Linked DNA regions of Homo sapiens: all the other regions are linked to region 4. The links are contacts of gene promoters, found by promoter capture Hi-C in human tissues and cell types (Jung and others, 2019). All regions are on one chromosome and are shown on one strand. Each heading gives the region's core, a stretch centred on a gene start or on the middle of the fragment in contact. The rest is flanking DNA. Distances are from core to core; before and after follow the strand shown. Region 1 overlaps GNA14 (G protein subunit alpha 14). Region 2 overlaps GNAQ (G protein subunit alpha q). Region 3 overlaps GNAQ (G protein subunit alpha q). Region 4 holds the start of GNA14 (G protein subunit alpha 14).

Evidence for each region. Contacts are between HindIII fragments. The study calls those that stand out against the background at their distance.
Region 1: a contact is called between a fragment that was not itself captured here and the fragment with the promoter of GNA14 in region 4, in 2 of the 25 tissues and cell types used here (H1 embryonic stem cells and dorsolateral prefrontal cortex).
Region 2: a fragment that was not itself captured here is called in contact with the fragment with the promoter of GNA14 in region 4 in 3 of the 25 tissues and cell types used here (bladder, hippocampus and lymphoblastoid cells).
Region 3: a contact is called between a fragment that was not itself captured here and the fragment with the promoter of GNA14 in region 4, in 4 of the 25 tissues and cell types used here (H1 embryonic stem cells, bladder, dorsolateral prefrontal cortex and 1 more).

Annotation. Positions count from the first base shown.
Region 1 is chr9:77,550,609-77,555,545 of GRCh38, reverse strand. The region is part of intron 1 of GNA14 (G protein subunit alpha 14); the gene reads left to right. Among named protein-coding and RNA genes, the nearest start is that of GNA14, 95 kb to the left of the region's middle. The HindIII fragment of the contact is 6,386 bases long and covers 79-4,937 here.
Region 2 is chr9:77,770,884-77,775,453 of GRCh38, reverse strand. All of the region lies in intron 5 of GNAQ (G protein subunit alpha q), which reads left to right. Among named protein-coding and RNA genes, the nearest start is that of GNA14, 120 kb to the right of the region's middle. The HindIII fragment of the contact is 3,819 bases long and covers 1-3,603 here.
Region 3 is chr9:77,713,049-77,718,183 of GRCh38, reverse strand. GNAQ (G protein subunit alpha q) reads left to right here. Exons shown (of 7, transcript NM_002072.5): 7 at 1-2,087. Among named protein-coding and RNA genes, the nearest start is that of GNA14, 67 kb to the right of the region's middle. The HindIII fragment of the contact is 4,626 bases long and covers 550-5,135 here.
Region 4 is chr9:77,646,608-77,651,238 of GRCh38, reverse strand. It overlaps GNA14 (G protein subunit alpha 14), which reads left to right and starts at 2,917. Exons shown (of 7, transcript NM_004297.4): 1 at 2,917-3,569. The coding sequence starts at 3,446. The HindIII fragment of the contact is 8,690 bases long and covers 1-4,631 here.

The DNA of each region.
Region 1 (4,937 bases), core at 2,022-4,521, 96 kb after region 4:
ACACACACTCAGGCATATATGTGGGGATGTTTTTCTTTTTTTGTGATTGGGTCTCACTCTGTCACCCAGGTTGGAGTGCAGTGGTGCAGTCTCGGTTCATTGCAACTTAGGCCTCCCAGGCTCAAGCGTTACTCCCACCTTAGCCTCATGAGTAGCTGGGAATGGCCCATGCCACCACGCCCAGCTAATTTTTTGTACTTTTGGTAGAGACCGAGTTTCGCCATGTTGGTCAGGCTGGTTTTGAACTCCTGAGCTCAAATGATCCACCCGCCTCAGCCTCCCAAAGTGCTGGGATTACAGGCATGAGTCACTGTACCCAGCCATGTGTGTTTATTTTTTACTGAAACTTTTAAAGTGTTAGACTTTACTCCCTAAGTATTCCTTCACTGATTTGCTGATAATCATTCTCTTATGTAACCACAATAAAATTATCATATCTAATAAAACCACAGTAATTCCATAGTATCATCTAATAACCAATCTAAAATGTGCATATTTTCATTTTAAAAAAAAATACTGCCAAATTCTCTTCAAAGCATCTGCACTAACTTATTGTTCCAACGGCAATGCATGGAACTTTCTGTTTCCTCACACATCCACCAACGTTTTGTTATCTGACTTTAGTTTTTGCTAGTCAGATGGAGGAAAAGTATCATTTTTACATTTGCATTTAAAAAAAGAAAACTCAGCCACAAAAACATGCAATTCTAGCACAGGATTTTGTCTTTAATTGTCACAGTAGAAATGAGATCCCCATTTGGCTTCCAGCACAGGGTAATAAACTCCATGTCTGTGAGCAATTTGGAGCAGACAGGAGATGTTTTTCTGAAGATTTAGAAAGGAATTACAGTGCAGCTCAGTTCTTCATTTTTATAAACATAGACCTTTGTCAGAGAATGTTTTGACACAGTTATCTTGGGGATCCAAAATTGTTTGGATGAAGTATTAATAGTATTTTTAAATTTATATAAAGTGGATGACTTTAGTATCAAAATAGCCAACAGAATATGAATCCCTCGCATTGAAAATGAGAGGAAACAGAACAGACAGCATCCCTGTTCTTGCTAACAGTCAAACTGATACTAAAACTTTAAAAAAACTTTTAACAAAAATTCTTAGGTTTGAACTTTGACAACTAATAGGCATGACATGCTCATAACCAAGAGGGGATAGAATTGTGTTTACTTTCTTGTGCATAAATAATGAAACACTGTTCGCCTACCACCCAGTGATTACCACCATTAAGTTTTGGTGACTATAATTCCAACTTACAGATGTGTGTATATGTGTGTGCAAGCTTAAAAATAATCCAAATCATCTTCACCTGAAAGTAACAGAGACACTTTTAAAGGCTTGCTGTGGGCTGAGCACTGGCTGAGTGCTTGCAGTGTTACCATTCCCGTTTCCCAGATGAGGCCAATTGAGAGCCTGTTCATGGTGAGGCAGCAGGTAAGTGGCAGACTTGGAATTTGAGCACAGGTACCCCTCTTAACCTTTACTGTACTCCCTCCTGGCCTAGTAGGTTTTATTCATTACTTTCTCATTTACTGTACTGTAGACGGCATTTCATGTCAGTAAATATTCATCTGCATTGATTTTCTCAGCCATATATTTCCATTGTGGAGAGTCAACATAACTAATTGGTCTCCTATCACTACGCATTTATTTTTTTTCTCATTTTTGTTATTGTGGATCACACTGTGATTACTTTCCCATTACATAGGTATTTGGCCACTTGTCCAATGATTTCTTTAGATTATATATCCTAGAATTGGAATTTTTGGGTGACATAACATCCCACTTTGAATGATGGTGATGCAAGCTGTCATATAATTCTTCATCTTGCTGTGCACACAAATAAGTGGGAATGGGTGTCTGTTTTCTCATATGCCCATTAACACTGGATTTTTTTTGTCAATTTGCCCCTCTTGCAAACAAAATATGGTATGGCATGATTTTCATTTGCACTCCATGATAATGAGGCCAAATAGTTTTCATATGCCTACTTGTATTCTCTTCTTGTGAATTGCCTTTATGTACTTTCCCTGCTTTTTTTTTCTATTGGTGCTGTTTTAAAAAAAACTGATCATTGAAGTTTTTTGCATATAAATCATTGACTCACCTGGGATTGATTTTGATGTGCCATATAGGTCTGATCTTGTTTCCATGTGGTTAAGATCTAGTCCCAGCACTACTCTGAGATGCCATTTATGAAGATGGTAGGTGTAGTGTAGTGCCTGCCACACATGGTTTCTCCATAAACATTCCTTCCCTTACTCTCTCCCTGTCTCTTGCATAGTCTTAGGGAGAGGTACTAAGGAAGGAGCCCGGGTATATCCAAGAACTGGGCTGGGGGAGTAGAAAAGAACAAGGCTAATTATTGAGATTTCACCCTTCCATGAATGATCAATATTTATGAAGCTCCTCTGAGAGACATATGAGAATAATTAGCTTCCATAAGGCTAGTTTGGGACTTTGATGTGCCTTTTTTCCTGGGATGTGTTTTTCCAGCAGGTCATGTCACCATTAGGTAAATGGAGTGATCCTCATTCATATTGTCATGATGATGCAGTAGATGCAGTTTTCAGAAAACCCTCATTGAGTTATGTTCACTTTTCTCCTGGCAGCCTGCAGTACAGTGTTCTGTTGGTTGGCACAGTTTCTGCTGCTTAACGCTGGATGGAAAATAAGTTAGAATCTGATAGTTATGGGCATTTCAATTAAGATGCTTAATAGCACTAATTGTATTTGGCTATAAGAACCCAAAAATGCTTGGGCATTAAAAAGAAACTAAGGTGAAATAATAATGATATTAAAATTTATCCTTGTTTCTCTGATGTTGTGAAGGCTACAACGGTAGGTCCTTCTGGAAGAGGTTGCCCTTGCTCCCTTGCTGAGTGAATTGGGTCTTTGGTAACATTTGTTTCCTTTATTATGTCAGAGTAATCATTCTTGGTGAGGTGATCTTGAAATTCTTAAAAGAGCAGAATGCAATTGTTATAAATAATATATCATAACAAAAATGAGAATCAAATTCACCAGTTGGTGTAACTTGGGACATATCACAGAATGTAGGACCAAGAAAAGTTTCAGTTTTCAATTCTGTTAGGAAAGCTCATCAGCAAATCCATTCTTTCCAGAAACCAAAGCTATAAAAACCCAAGAAATGCTCGGAGCATGTTATCTCTCATTATTTTCATTTCCAGATTATTTTCTCAGATTTGTTCATCTCTCAGCCTCTCAAAGCCTCCACTGTCCTTCACTTTTCACCACCAACTCCCCACCAAAAGAAAAACCAAACAAATAATCCCCCAGAATCTGGATATTATAGATTCAATTTTATTTTAGAACTTTTGGGAATAATTGATTGTTTGTGTTGAATTTCTTTCTTTCTTTTTCTTTTTTTTTTTTTTTTTTTTGAGATGGAGTTTCTCTCCTGCTGCAAAGGCTTGATCTTGGCTCACTGCAACCTCTGCCTCCCGGGTTCAAGTGATTCTCCTGCCTCAGCCTCCCAAATAGCTGGGATTACCAGTGCCCACCACCACACCTGGCTAATTTTGGTATTTTTAATAGAGACAGGATTTCACCACGTTGGCCAGGCTGGTCTCGAACTCCTGACCTCAGGTGATCCGCCTGACTCGGCCTCCCAAAGTACTGGGATTACAGGCATGAGCTACCGCGCCTGGCCAAATTTCTTTATATTAAGGCTGTATTTGCAAATACTGGCCTTCTAAAATCACTGAAGATGATTTCTACCAAATGAGCCATGAAGAATGAAAAGGATTTTTTTTTAAAAAAAGCAAAGAACATGGCCCTAACTCTTTTTCTTATTGTTTCTTGTTGCCCAAAGATGCTGCTCAGATCTAGTAGGAGAATAATCCTTCCTATTTTTCACTATATTTCTTCCTAGGGGCTGGAATTGACCAGACTTTAGGAGCAGGGAAGGGTCCCATGAAAGAGGGCTTCAGCTTCAGTCTGGAGGCAGCTTCAGAACTTGATGACCTAGTGATTTGGGGTCACTTGAAGGGGGGGTGGGTGAGTGTCTGCGCATGTATATGATGAGGTCCTGCTTTTTCTAGTCCCTTGACTAGTTTTGTGCCTGCTGCAAGATGTACTTCATGGTGGCCAAGGGGCAGGCTGGCGTGGATGGGGATGAGTTTATGCCAGTGGTTGACCACATAAAGGAAGTCTAAAGACCCTGCTTATCTGCAGGACAGAGTTTGAGTTGTCAGCATTAGTAGATGAGTAGAAATTGAAGATTCAAAATTTGAAAAAGGATGAGGAGGGAGAGGAGGAAAAGAACAGCTAAAGAATGTATAATATATCAAACTGTGTCAAAGCATGCTAGCCAAAGATGCTTGATTTGCATTGCTTGTTGATTTGCAGGCACATACATTCTGTATAAAGTATAATGAAAATTTTCAGCTAATCTGCCAAAAAGGTTGAAAATTTTCCCTTTCAACCTATGATGGAAAACAATTCAGCAATGTATGTTTTGAGGGCAGGGGTAGGGGAAGACCAAGCAGACTGCCTGAAGATATTCCTCATCAGGAAAATCAGAGTTGTATTTTCAATTCCATACTGAATTTAAAACAGGAACTGGGCCCACAATAGCATAACAGTAAGGAAAAATCTGATGTCTGATTTTGAGACCTAGCGTAGCTAAATTTCCAGTGTGTGAGAGTGAATACGAAGGTGACCATCTTAATTTGCACACTTTACCCTGTGAATAATTTTGTTGCCCCTGTGGACAACCTGACCTTAACAAAGCCTTGTCAAGCCCATCTCATTTCCACCTCCCATTTGATTCTCTTTGAACTTCCATGTGTAAACAATGGTTGGATTATAGAATAGATAAAGTGAGATTTAACAGCTGCTTTGAAGATAGTTTAAATGTACTTTTAATTAGTATTGTTGAATTGATTTCATGCTGTAGC
Region 2 (4,570 bases), core at 445-2,944, 130 kb before region 4:
TGGGTGATAGAGCGAGACTCTGTCTCAAAAAAAAAAAAAAAAAAGAGAGATGAGGAGAAGTGAACATTCTTAGATACTGTTAATAGGAGGATAAATTGGTACAATCTGCCAGTAGTATGACAATATATAAAATCTTTTGAGGTGTTTATACCCTTTGATCCAGTAATGCCACTGGTAGAAATGTTATTGCTAATTGTAGTTAGTAGGTTACATGTCCCAAAGACAACATTGCTCAAAGTTGTTAACAATGAAAATAATTAAATTATCCAATTGTAGGAAATCGATTAACAAATTCAGAGTACACCTAAAAAATAAAATACTATGCAGATGCTAAAAATGGTAATATAGATGTATAATTAATATTGGACAGAAAGTCGCTCATGATATATTGATGTAAATAATTTCAAAACAGCACGTACAGCATGCATCTGATTTTTAAAGACATATAATACAGATATTTATTATAGGTGCATACATATATGCCTGGAAGATTAATTCAGACTGTTAGCAGGGATTATTTCTGAATAGTTGGGGTAAAGGTCATTTTGTTTTTATGTTTTATTTATTTTACTTACCTGCATTTTTAAATTTTTACATGAACAATCCATTTTACATGGATTAAAGAAATAATGATTATCTTAAAAGATAAGAAATCTTAAAGATTAAAATCTAATAAAATAAAAGTAAGCTGAGCTGGGCATGGTGGCTCAAACCTGTAATGCCAGCACTTTTGGAGGCCAAGGCAGAAAGATGACTTCAGGCTAGGAGTTGGAGTCCAACCTGGACAACAGAGTGAGACCCTGTCTCTACAAAAAATATAAAGAAATTTGCTGGGCATGTGGTACACACCTGTAGTCTTAGCTACTAGGGAGGCCAAAGCCAGAGGGTCACTTGAGCCCAGGAGTTTGAGGCTGCAGTGAGCTATGATTGTGCCACTACACTCCAGCCTGGGTGACAGAGCAAGAACCTGTCTCTCTATTTTTTCTTTTCTTTTATTTTTTTAAAAGGCATTTTAGGCAGCTTTCTCTTTTTCTGATTGGTTTCAGAAAGATAAGATGCAGTTACAAGCAAATGGAGAAATTAAGTACAAATGTCTGGTCCGAGAAGCTTAGCAAACGTAGCAGTATTAGTTCTAACATCCATTTTCTGTCAATTTATTGAAAATATCTTCAAAACTGATACATCTTTTAGAAGTAATACAAATTAAAGAGTTCATTGAAATAAAGGAGATAGTTTTATGACACCAAGATTTATCTCCACACTTGTTCCTTCATCTTAGATGGAACAAATGCAGAGAGTGTAAAGCTTAAAATAACTATATGCTCTACAATGTAGATAATCAAATGAAAATGCTGTGGTCTCAAAGCCAGAGGAATGTGGACCACTTTGGTGGCCAAATTTAACCAGCTGAGGTCTTTCTTGAGTACCATCTGAGTCTTCCTTTTTAAAAAAAAAAAAGAAGAAGAAGAATTTGTCTTTTAGCAGGGAACCTACATTTTATAAAACTTTAAATCATTTGCTGTGGCTTTGTTATTCTATAATATCACTTTGGTTGGGACACCAAGCTCAATAATTAATAAAGGGTCTGGATTTCGTGAAATGTTCTTCAGAGAGCCTAGATTAAGATCCAGGGGCAGTATAATATATGTGCCATTCTTCAGGTCTTATTCTGCCTCAGTTAAATCTCCTACAGTAACATCTCTAACATGTTTTCACACGGGAACCTATGAAGAAAAGCAGCATATTTTTGAATTGCCAATGAATATAATGTGAATCGTCACTTTAAAATGGGAACAAGAAAAAAGTGTAGTGTCTTTTGTGGAACATTAGTCAACTGTGAGGTACAAATCCAAGGCAGTCCCTGAAGAGACAACAGGGAAATAGAATCAGACTATCTTGGATTAAATCACAGCTTCACTCATTTCAGGCTGGTTAATCTTGCACAAGTTAATATCACTGTGCCTCCCTCATAATGTGAAGAATGAGGATATCATTACTCTTAAAGCGCTGTGAGGATTATTAAAATAGATAACATACAAACTTCCTGGAACACACAGATGTTCAGTAAATTATAGTTCATACTATCAATTTTAAGGTACTGTTATTACTGTTGGTGCTAAGTTAGTGTTATAACTTTCATTTGGAAACATTATCATCTATGGCTAATTCTGTCTTAAGAGAACTCTTTGATTTGACATTTATGCCTCACAGCCAGAGTCATAAGCTTAATCATTATTTGTTAAATAAGATTAAAATATGGGGAAAAGTATTATTTGTGTAAGTGCTGAAAAATAAAGAAGCTTTGGTTTAAGAAAATTTCTTTTACAATAAGAGAATGAAAAGGTTTAACATGCCCAAAAAAAGGGACTGAAAACAATATTTTTAAGATACAGCTACTAATATTTATAACAAGCTTGTCCAACCCATAGCCTGTGGGCCTCACGTGGCCCAGGACGGCTTTGAATGCAGCCCAACACAAATTTGTAAACTTTCTTAAAACATGAGATTTTTTTTGGCGTGTTTCTGTGGTTTTTTTGTTTTTGTTTAGCTCATCAGCTATCTTTAGCATTAGCGTATTTTACATGTGGCCCAAGACAGTTCCTTCTCTTCCATTGTGGCCCAGGGAAGTCAAGAGATTGGACACCCTTGATCTATAACATATATTTGTTATCTGTTTACATGTTCTATTACAGTGTTTGTATTAGTCATGGCTTTGTTGTTGAAAAAAGACAAAAATTCTCACAGACTAGCTGACGTAACCAGGAAGAACCAGGGTGAAGATGCTTTATTAGTACCTTGAACCAGGAGTTTGGTTGGGAATCTCTTTCTCTCTTCTGATTTTTGTTTTGTTTCTCCTCAAACAGTCCTGAATTGTACCTGCTCAGCCTTGCAACCCAAGAGAAAAGGGAGTTTCTATTCCACTCCAAAATGGAAAATCCCACCGAAAGGGGATGTAGTACTAGGTTTGTCTCAGTGTAAATTAATATTGACCCCAGTGGTCAGAGGCAGAATGTATTCCAGGAAGATTGGGGGCAGGGAGCAGAGCACACTTGGTGGAGAAAAACAATGGCCAGGTACCAATCTTTTCCAACCTGGGAGTTTCCGCACAGCAGTGAATTGGGACCATTATTGGGCAGTGAATTCCATATGATGGGGTCATGAGCAGCATCTTTAAAAAAGTGAAATAAATACATTTAAATGAAATTGAATAGAAAATGTTAAAGGATATCACAGTCAGGTGAATTATTGTTTCATGAAACTTTCGTTTCCATTATATTTACATGTGTGTGGGTTGGGGGACTAGGTACAATATAAAACATAGTTGTTAATATGGGTCATAATTTTTAAAGTTTACAGGTCTACACCGTACAGTGCTCTTCAATTGTAAACTACTGTTGTCAATGGGAAGGTAATCTGCTTGCTACTAGGATCTTATTCTTCACTCCAGTCCAGGCATTGGGCGGAAGGGTGAATGCAGAGTGGCACACAGCAGCAGATGGGAATTAGCTGGCTCCTCAGCCTTCCAGGGTGGGTTTTTTTTTGTTGTTTTTGATTGGAGAGTCCAGGTGGGTGGTTGCTGTTTTTCCCCCTTTCTGTGACACAATTTAAGGTAAAGTAATTTTCAGAAACAACCATAGCCATAAATTCAGCTCAATTTGTATGTTTCAGTATGCAACATTTCTTCCACTAACAGGGCCAGCTTCACAGACATGCAACCTCATGCAGTTCCACAGGGCCCTGCACTTGGTTTAATACTCTTCTGTCTGTGGCCATCTTAAACAAGGACCCCACATTTTTATTTTGCACTGGGACCTGCAGATTCTGTAGCCAGTCCTGTCCACTAAACACTAAAATGAGAGATTGGTAGTCCAGAATCATTTTTTTCCCATACCCAGAGAGCTGCAGACATCCTTGTCTTCGCCTGTGCTCACAGAGCACGTGATACTTAACAGGAGGAATATATCTCTCATTTTCTGTTAAATTTAGTTTCACCTGATGCCTCTTAATTTTAATTCTCTTTTAGAAAATGACACTAAACGTGCTCTTCCTGATTAATTTGCAGCATGTTAATATATACTCTAATTAGCAGCTGATTTCCTGCCTCACTTCCCCAGTGGTACCAGGCTGATGTGCCCAATGAGGGCATTCAGAACTAATCATTGAATCCATGGCAGCCCAAACTTATAGTTTAATATATGCCCCACTTCTCCCATCCCCTTATGGCCCCCACATCCCTTAAATAGACTGTCAACTTACTAAAAGGAAAGAGATAGCATAGAATTTAAAAGAGCTTGCATTCAGGTTATGTGTTCATTAAACTGAGTTTCTAAAGTAGGTGTTAGTGATACCAGTGATTCCTCCTCTTCTCATCTTAGGGTTGCCCATTGAACTGGGATAATGGATAGACCCACTTAACCTCCAAAAACCGACTTACTAAAAACTATGTAAGAACTGGGTGAAATGTTTTATTTTTCATGATCTGAAAATATTTTTCAGAAAATGAAAAATGTTTTATTTTTTTCAGAAAATGAAAAATGTTTTATTTTTCATGATCTGAAAAATAAAAATC
Region 3 (5,135 bases), core at 1,613-4,112, 67 kb before region 4:
ATGGTGACTTGGGCATGTCTTATTCAAAAACAAAAACATAAAACACAGAAACCTTTCTTCAGCATACCAAGGCAAGCAGCCATTTCATGACTCACTTAACACATTGCAGTGTACCAGTTTACAGATGATTTTTCCCTTTTTGCGTGACATGGCAGTTCTAACCCCCAGAGAATTCCTTATTTGTAAATTGGAAGTTTCTACTATGCCTTACAGAGCTTAAATTCAGAAGTTTGTGCCTCATATCTGAAACAAAGGGAAATAACACACCCATTCAAAAGTAAATAAATCTCCTAGAAGTTTTTGTTTTTAACATTTCCATATAAAGAGCTCTGTTGAATGTCATGAATAGACTGGAAAAAAAAATTTTAAGAACCTGCATATGTTGTTTACTAGCAGATGACAACTACAAAAGGAATCTGAAGAACACGTAAAACTTGTATTTTTTTTTTTTTGGTAGATTAACTAGCAGGCCTATTTTAAAAAGGTAATTCAGCTAAAGGGCAATTTACTTTTTTGTACTTCAGACTATCTTGATTGTCAAAGTGTACGAACTGTAATTTTAAAATTTATACTGCCACATGATTGTAAATTTTAGTTGTCTTAAGTTAGGAATTGGTGAAAAGCTATTTATGCTGGATTTGGGTCAAAATGACTTATTTGCAAAAAAATAAATAATGGGAAGAAAGGGCTGTATAATGAAATACTGCAAGACTCACATATTGGTTGGAAATTTCCCTCAAATCACCTACCGATTACCCTTGATTTCCCTTTGTTTTCAGTTTCTCAAAACGAATGAAATGAAATATAGCAGAATGTTAACCCATATAAAAATAAAGTGTACCCAAATATTGTAATGTATATTGCTGCTCTTCTTCAAATTAAATAAGGGTTTAAAACCACTTAATTGGTAATCAACATCTCAATTGATACAAATAAGGTGTGCTTGGTATACATTAATATTTTCTTCCAAAGATATATCTTTGGTTAGAAACACAAAAAAATAAAACTAGTAATATTGTATGTTTATCTATCTCTACATATTTCCAGCATATGTAGCGTTAATAGATCTGTCCTGGTAACTGTGTCTTTGGGATTTCATTTTGGTTCCATCAAATTAGGAAAAGAAATGGCTTAGTTGTATATGATTAGCTAGAGATTTTTGGAGCCAGACACCTGCTGTTTAGTAGATAACTTAGTACAGACCCTAAACTTGTCATTTGTTTTTCTCACAGAATAGCCATTTCCTGCTGTCTTCCCAATGATCACTGCCCTTTCAATAACACTCTTGCCTCTAGAATCATATGTTCAAAGTATGAATACACACCTAGCACATAGTAGGTGCTCAAATATTAATTTCCTCCTTGCCTTCCTTATCTACCCTGTGTCCTCCATTTCCCCGTATGATTCCAACCCAATATAGCAAATGACATTTACATGTTATGAAAACATCTATTGGGTAAAATCAGATCTTGGATAAAGAAATTCTGACTTTTATATAAGCTTTTGGTAGACAGAAAAAACAGAAAGGTATTCGTTGGTAGAACATTTTTAAGTTCAGGAAAGAAAGCTGGAATAATACTACGTAACTTTGTCCAGGTTACTTTGACTGAAACACGTTTTTGGTGGATTTCTTTTCCTCAAAGAACTCTCTAAATGCAACTCCTTGCTGGATTCCTCACCCATCATCCTGTTGGAAACCCTTACTAGACCTATGTATTTAGGGAGTTTTGTCAGAAAACATTTTTAACTTGCAGTATTTAAAAGAATATTTACTGTTCCTAAAATGTCATTCAAATGCATGTACTGTCTATTGTTTGGGGATGGGAACTAGTTTTGCAAAAAACACCTAATGTTGTATAATAATGCCCCAATGATCTTGCTGGTTAAAAATACAGTATTTTTGGCCATAATTTTGTACTATAGTATTCTTCATTGTTGAGTTTTGCTTCCATTAAAGTTGCCCGAGCCCCTCTCAGAATGTTTTGTATTAGTAGGAGTACTGAAATACATCTTTCCTTCCTTAACACACCTTGTGCATATTGCATTTTCCAAAATAAACAAGTTTAATGGTTTCAAAAAAAAAAAAACACCAAAAAACCTTTTCCCTTCTGTGTATAATCAGAAATAAGAGTCTCCTGTAGTGGAAATACACATATTGGTAGCATTTATCAAATTTGCTCTTTGAAAAAACTTGCCTTAATTTAGGTTATAATTAACTGGTTAAAAAAAAAAGTAAATACCTATCCAATAAAGAAAGGAGCCAGCAATCTTCAACCTGAGGCAGTCTCCCAATCAGTAAAAAGAATCCACACATCTGCCCTGGTTTACTGGGTAGCACACTGGACTCAGGCCAATGGCTGGCTTAAGAGTTTTGCCCATTTCAACACTGGCAGTGAATAGGTAGACTCCACATGGGAAAAATGACATGTCACAGGTGTCCTCTCTGAGTTTTAGAAACACATCCAGGCTTTTGAGGTCAGCTAAAAATCAGCTGCTCCTGGGAGTTTTATTAAGTGGAGGTGATGGTGGCAAGTGGCTTTCTGGAAAATAGGTACTTTTGTGGGGACTTTAAGCCACAGCAAAAGCAAAACCTGTTCCTGTTACTCCAACTGGCAGCCAGCCCTTGCTTATGGATTTTTGTTTTTCAGAATATGTCCCCTCTAAATACTAAGAGATGAGAGTGTCATTTTTGCTTAAAGGCCTTCAGCTCTCCTTGTGTGATTTAGAGACCATTTCCAGTAGATGGTATTCTCTCTCTCTGTCTTAACTGTTCAAGGAATGGCGTGGCACTGACTGTCATCTAGCACAGGCCTGGAGTGATGGTTCCCACACCCTAGTTCTGCAGAGACACTGGAGTGTTAAGCTATACAGGAGCACTCCCCTCTCTTTGGCCTTCTAACCTGAGTTTGACCCCTTTAGGACCATGATCTATTTGTACCATCATTCCAAAGACCCCCACCCAGAGGAAAAAACACAAACTCACTAAACAGTCATTGGGCCAAATATTTAACTTGACCTTTTGGCTCATAGAGCAAGCCTATGCCATCAGATTGTCTTCTGTCCTGTCTTTCTGGAAATGGTAACAAAACAGTTGGCTTGAAAGCTTCTCTGCTTTACTCCCCATCTTTCCTGCCTTCTCACATTTTTCTCTCAGGTTGTGATGCCCTGAGTCCTGCCTCTTGAGAGACAATTAAGCCATAGCAAAAAGGTGGAACTTGATGCTAAGGAACAACCAGGTACACTGCATAATGTGTGCAGAGCAATTTCAGATGGTAAACTAGCCAGTTTCTTGCTTTTTTGTCTAATTTCAAATGATTATCATACTCATGAGTTTCTCCATATTTGAAGCTCTTATTGAAATTTGATCAGGGGTGGAGAGTGAAAGGCAGTGGTTAGAAGTGGCTTTCTGGCTGATTTGTTTTAAATTACGCATTATCGTTATTTTTTTTTGTTTCATTGTCATGGCTGACTAAAACATGGATCCAGCTATTACAAGGAGCTATATCCAGTCTGTTTTAAGGGAGTCCCGTAGATTCCTGCAAAACAAGACCCTGGTTATAAAATGTAGGTCTCTTTAAAATCTAAGATGCATAGAGAGTACTGAAAAGATTATTTTCCCTTTGAATTCTTATGCCTCAAGACTATTGGAATTTGATCTCTGTTGATTTTTCTCTCTTCCTGTTTTCCTCAAGAATGCAAAGGCCAGAATATTTTTCTGTCTCATAAGCCTGTGGATAAAATAAGGCAACTTACCCTCTTTAATTAAGAGTAATCACACTGAACCATACTAACAGAGAGCTGGAAGGCAGGGCTCCCAGGTTTCAGCCCTTTCGTAGCCCTAGAGATGTTTTTGCAACTCAGGAGACTAGGCCTGTCCCACAGAGATAGACTGCTTAAAGGGCCCTGGGGACTCTCCATCTGTTTCCAGTTTGCTCCGTGTGCTTTTATGTTGGGTCTTAAAAGCATCTTAAAAGGACCAGGAAGAGACAAGGTCTGCAAATGGAGATTCCACACTGTGTCCAGCTGCCAGGACGCTAACGTAGCTGCTGCTAAGACTGTGTCTGCCCTGAGGCAGACCTCACCTAGGAGGGCATATCTGTTAGGAATCCTGGCACTGCCTGCCAACCTACTGTCCAGTCAGGGCACCAGCCAGTCATGCCTGAAGTACAGGTGCCATGTCAGGGGTTATAGCATCAATGGTTATATTCTAGGAATCTGAGCAGTCTTAGCAAAAGGGACCAGCTTGCTTTTGTCACTGAACTTGGAGTTGAGAAGAGATGCTGACACCTGGCTCTCAAAGTGCCCTGCATGCCATCCTCAGGTGCTTTAGGTGATGCCTTTCTGTAAACCTGGAGAGTGTCAGCAGGAAAGACCACCCTGGCTTACTGCACCAGAAACATATGCATTCCCTCCCCTGTGACTCAGACCCAATGACCAAAAAGCAAACTGGCCCCATACCCATGATGGGCTCTGACAAGTGGCGGCTCTGCTGGAAATACAAAATATTTAAACTCAAAAGGAATCAGTTTGGGTAGCAAATTTAACTAATACGTGTGTGTGCGTGTGCGTGTGTGTGTGTGTGTGTTTAATGTCTCAGCATCTCCAACCAACTCAATCATTGCTGAATAAAGAGGAAAACCCCACACAAATGTTTATGTCAATTGGGTAAAATCAATCCTAATATTTTTAAAAACATAGTCTCTACACATACGTGGGTACACATGTAAAATCTCAAAATGGTTTTATCTTGACGCTGTGTACACAGATACACGTGTACAAATATCCGCACATCTATACAGTGAGGCTTGCTTATCCCTATGGTTATAAGCATTTTATCTCATGGAAGGTAATTCTTCATATTGACATGATTGAGACTAAAAGTATCATAAAATCCACAGCTCACGTTTTCTTTTTTAAAAAACTGTTCTCTCACCGCTCTTTTCAAAACTCTGCCTTAATCTAGGAAAGAATACCTAATTATTGCACTTTTTTTTTTTTTAAATTGTTTTAGGAGAGTTGAACTTAGACTGGGGTTTCTCTGTCTCTGGGCAATGAGGGGATGTATTTCCAGCAGACAGGAAGAGTCTCAGACCAGGTACAAAAACTGGATGAAATGTCTGTCTCATTACGAAAGC
Region 4 (4,631 bases), core at 1,668-4,167:
GGGGCTGGTATGGACCTAGTGGACATTCAGAGGGATATCAGACAATTAGCTCACCCCTGTAGCCCCACACTTGGTGGATATCTGAAACTCAGGTCCAGTCTGCGCTCTCGTCTTCAAGATGAATAAAATAAAATTGCAGCTTTTTTGAAATAACTTAGGAAAATAAATATTCTCTTTTATTGAGAACTCTTCTCAAAACTACCCCTTCCTGGAAAGATGTTTCCAATGAATTAATATCTTAAAATTATTATCATTTTACCTTCCAGATTCTACAGATAAGGAAAACAGAGATGAATAAAACATAGAAGTATAAAAATGATTGACTTGTGATATCCCAGTTTTCTGTTTCTTACCAGTGGCTGATGCTCAATAACAACTTTAGGTTTTTGATTATTTTTAAATAAATTTATTTTGGATAAGTGTGAATGTCATCAAAGAAATAATGCATGTTAGAGTTGGGTGATCCTTTTGAGCTTATTCTGGCTTATCCCTCTCATCTTATAGTTAAGGAAAGTGGAGCCTAAATAATTTTATGCAAGCTGCCCCAAATTTTTTCTTTCTTTTTTTTTTTTTTTGAGACGGAGTTTGGCTCTTGTTGCCCAGGCTGGAGTGCAATGGTGTGATCTTGGCTCACCACAACCTCTGCCTTCCGGATTCAAGCAATTCTCCTGCCTCAGCCTCCCGAGTAGCTGGGATTACAGGCATGTGCCACCACACCCAACTAATTTTGTATTTTTAGTAGAGATGGGGTTTCTCCATGTTGGTCAGGCTGGCTGGTCTCGAACTCCCAACCTCAGGTGATCTGCCCGCCTCGGCCTCCCAAAGTGCTGGGATTACAGACGTGAGCCACTGCACCCAGCCCAAATTTTCTAATGAACAATGAAAATCAACCAAACAGCCATGACTCACAGCAAGCTACCTTTTTGATGTGTGTCCCTTCAGTCTCTTAAAAATGTGTATGCGTATTCTTATACTAAAATCTTATCATACTCTTTATATTTTTGGATCTTGCCTTTTTCATTCAATATATTTTGAGGATTTTCTCCAAATTTATTCACATGTTTACTACTCGCATATCCACATATTTAATGGCTCCAAAACATCTCATTGTATGGATAAACCATGATTTAAGTGATCTCTTCCCTGTTGTTAGGTATTTAGGTTGTGAGTTTTTGTTGTTGTATTGGCAATAAAACCTTTGCATCAGTCATGAGGCTTCTTTCTAGTTATTTCTTAAGGGAGAAATTACTGGTTTGGCCGAAGGGGACGGACATGTTTAAGGCTTCAGATATATACTGCCAAGCTGACTAGCCCAGGAAAGTTGTACAGATTTGCCCTAATCAATATGTTTCATAACTGTTTTTGAAATCTTGCCAACTTTAAACCTAATAGGTCAGTATCAGTAATTCCCGTTAACGTAAGAGTTCAAATTTGCCCTAGTTTTAATCATTTAAAAATTTTTTATAATTTTTAAATGATAACAATTATGATGCAACCATGACTTTGAGAAGCCAAGAGATCTTATTCTCAAATTGTAAATGAATCCGTAAGAGCTAAGAGAGAAGAAACAGGCTATTAAATGGCCAAAGATCAAATCTGAAATGTCCAGGAGTTTTCCTGTAGGGGTCACTGTTACTGTCAATTTATGCCTGCAAGAAAACTAAAATAGTCACACATTAAAGCATGTATGCACATTTTTAATGTCTGATTCCTCTACATTTCTTAAACTGTAAAATAATAAGAACATGCAGCCAGATAGCATCGCGATACCAACTTCTTTATATAATGACACGTACCATTCCACTCAATGTGCTCCTCAGTTTGAATTTATAAAATATATGCTACTCAAATGAAAGGCACTTATGCCTGCTCTTAGTAGAGGAAGCGCTAGCTAATTGCCTAACGCCCCATTAGCATATGGCCTATACTGACTTGAGAAGGAAAGAACGTTCATTGCTGTGGCCAATAGGATCCCCTCTCCCCACCTTCCCTTTTCTGCATCAAAATCTACACAGACAAAAGTCAGATGTTGTAATATGCATTTTATCGTGTCACTTAAGTACTAAGAGGTGCTTTTAAAGTTTTTATTAATGCTGCTCAAACTTGACCCCGACGGTCCAGGATACAGGCCAAGGTGTCAGTGCGGACACAATCGCAAGGCGGCTGTTAGGCTTCAGGGCTGGGCAGGAAACTTGCCAGGTGCTACTAGGAACGTATCAGCCCTTTCTACAAAGCAGGTGTCTTTCCCATCATAAAATGCAAAGCAATCAGCCGTTCCCTTTCTCCCCAGCCCCCTCGTCCGGAGACCGAGAGGATATTTACCCTGGGCTCTTGCAGTTCTCTTATAACTGAACCCAGCGGCGGCTCCTTCTCCGAGCTCAGAGCCAGCAGGCTCAGGCCCAGCCACACTTTACAGGCAAATTGCCGAGCTGACCAAGGGCTTTGGCCAAGCCCGAGCTGGGCCGGGGCGTCCGGGAAGCGGAAGGAGCCAGTCTAGGAAATCCGGGTGTGCGTGGTGGTGAAGCTGGTGGGCAAGCTTCCACTTCAGGTCCGGGGCTTTGTGTCCCGCAACAGACGCTTGGCGCCGCTCCTCTTCCAGCCTGCTGCCGCCTTCTCCGAGCGAGTGAGTTGGCGAAACTCACTCACCTGTCGGAACCCGGTGCCTGGCGGCCAGACGCGCAGATTACAGCAAACCTTGGCCGGGACGCCCCAGCCAGGGAGGCAAGTGTGGGAGCTGCTCCTAGAGGTGCCAGCTCCCACCCCCAGCTCCGCGCCCCCTGCTCGTCCCCTTTCACTTCCAGGCGCCTTCGGCTTGGGGTGCCCAGAAGGGCAAGTCCAGCAGACGCCAGGGCTGCAGGTTCAAGATGCTCCGCCTCCTCCTGCCACTTAGAGCCACAAACGCTAGCGGGAACCTTTCCACTCAGTCTTAGTCTGCGGTCACTGCTGAGGTTTTCAGAACTTTCCAGGCAAAGGCCAGCCAGGTCCTTTGCCTCCAACCCACTCCGCGCCTACCTCCCGCCTGGGGACACCCCTAGGCCCAGGAGATCCTACTCTCCCCCGAGCACCGACGTTCCAACTCGTCTGCGCCCCCGACTGCTGTCCGGCTCCTGTGCCAAGGGGCGCGCGCATCTTCCCGGGGCCAGCAACGCTCCCAACTTCTCGACTCGCCCTCCTCCTCCCCAGAGCGAGAGTGGGGCGGGCTGAGCCCGGATCCGGGGTGCACTCGAGCGTTCCCAGCGCTCGGCATTCACCCCGCCTCAGAGCCGACTTTCGAAGGGGGATTGAGCCTCGGAGGTCCAGGCGTCTTACTCCAAAGCTCAAGTCGGCCCCCGTCTTTTCTTTCCACACCCCTGTGCCCGTCGCATGCTGGCCGGGTGAGCGGCCGGGCCGAGGATTCGGGTGCCCGGGGCCGCGTCGCCCCGTCGGGTACTGAGCTGAGCGCACCATGGCCGGCTGCTGCTGCCTGTCCGCGGAGGAGAAGGAGTCGCAGCGCATCAGCGCGGAGATCGAGCGACAGCTTCGTCGGGACAAGAAGGACGCGCGCCGTGAGCTTAAGCTGCTGCTGCTGGGTGAGTGGCTGCGTCTCCGACTCCAGTGAGCCGGGCGTTTTTCTTCCGAGCCCTCCCGGCCTCTCCACTGGCACCCGCGCGGCCCTGGAGCCCAGCGGGGTGCAGGGCGGCTTCGTCCTTCTCCCCCTCGGAGCTCACGGATGCCAGCAACTTGGGGCCTTAGGTGCCTGTTCTTTCCATCTCTGGCTGGGCGACTTGCAAAAGCAACACCTTCCCCTGCCCCAAAACAGGATAGGGACCTGTAACACTTAACCTCTTGACCGCTGTACCTTATGTGTTCCGGTGTGCCCCTCTCCTCAAAACCCCGTCCACTCCTCCGCCCGCAGCACACCCAGCTTGGGGTCTGTGGTGACCCACATCTTGGGTTCAGCGCTAGCTCTGACCCGTACGCTTTCAGTTCTAGATGAAGCATCTTGAGAATTTACCATGTGCCAGATCGTGCTAAGTTCTTAAGGGCATCACCACCTGGTGATGCGGGCAGGTGATATCGCTATTCTAGAGAATTAAAACATGGAGGCCTGGAGAACTGACCAACTTGCCCTGATTGAGAAAAGGCAAAGCCGATGCTAGGTCAGCTGTGGGGGTGAAGCCCATGCCGTTGCTGCTCCTCTGACCGTGAGCTCCTATGCCTGCCTCCCATGGGGGTCCCTCAGGCCTTTGTGTTTGCAGCGGACCCAAACCTCCCTTGCCCAGCTTGACTCAGTGTGTCCACGTCCTAGGATTCAGCTTGGCTGCCCTGGTGCCTCTGGCAGGTCTTCATCCAGCTCTTTTGGTGTCTCTGCAAAGGTCTGGGTAGGACATCCACTTTCAAACACAGAAAGAACACAGTTTAAGGTTTGCCCAAGTTATGCCATGAGGCAAGGATCCCATCTCAGACTTTCTAGAACGCTGTCAACACATTTGCTGTTTGAGGAATATTTTACCTTTTCTACCTTTCAGACCATGATATCAGCTGTCAATTTTTTTCTAGATAGCCACAAAGATTTCAACTTTTTTTCTTTCACCCCTTTTGAACAGGAATCTTCTCTTATACCATCTATTTATTCATCTTTATTCCTTGTA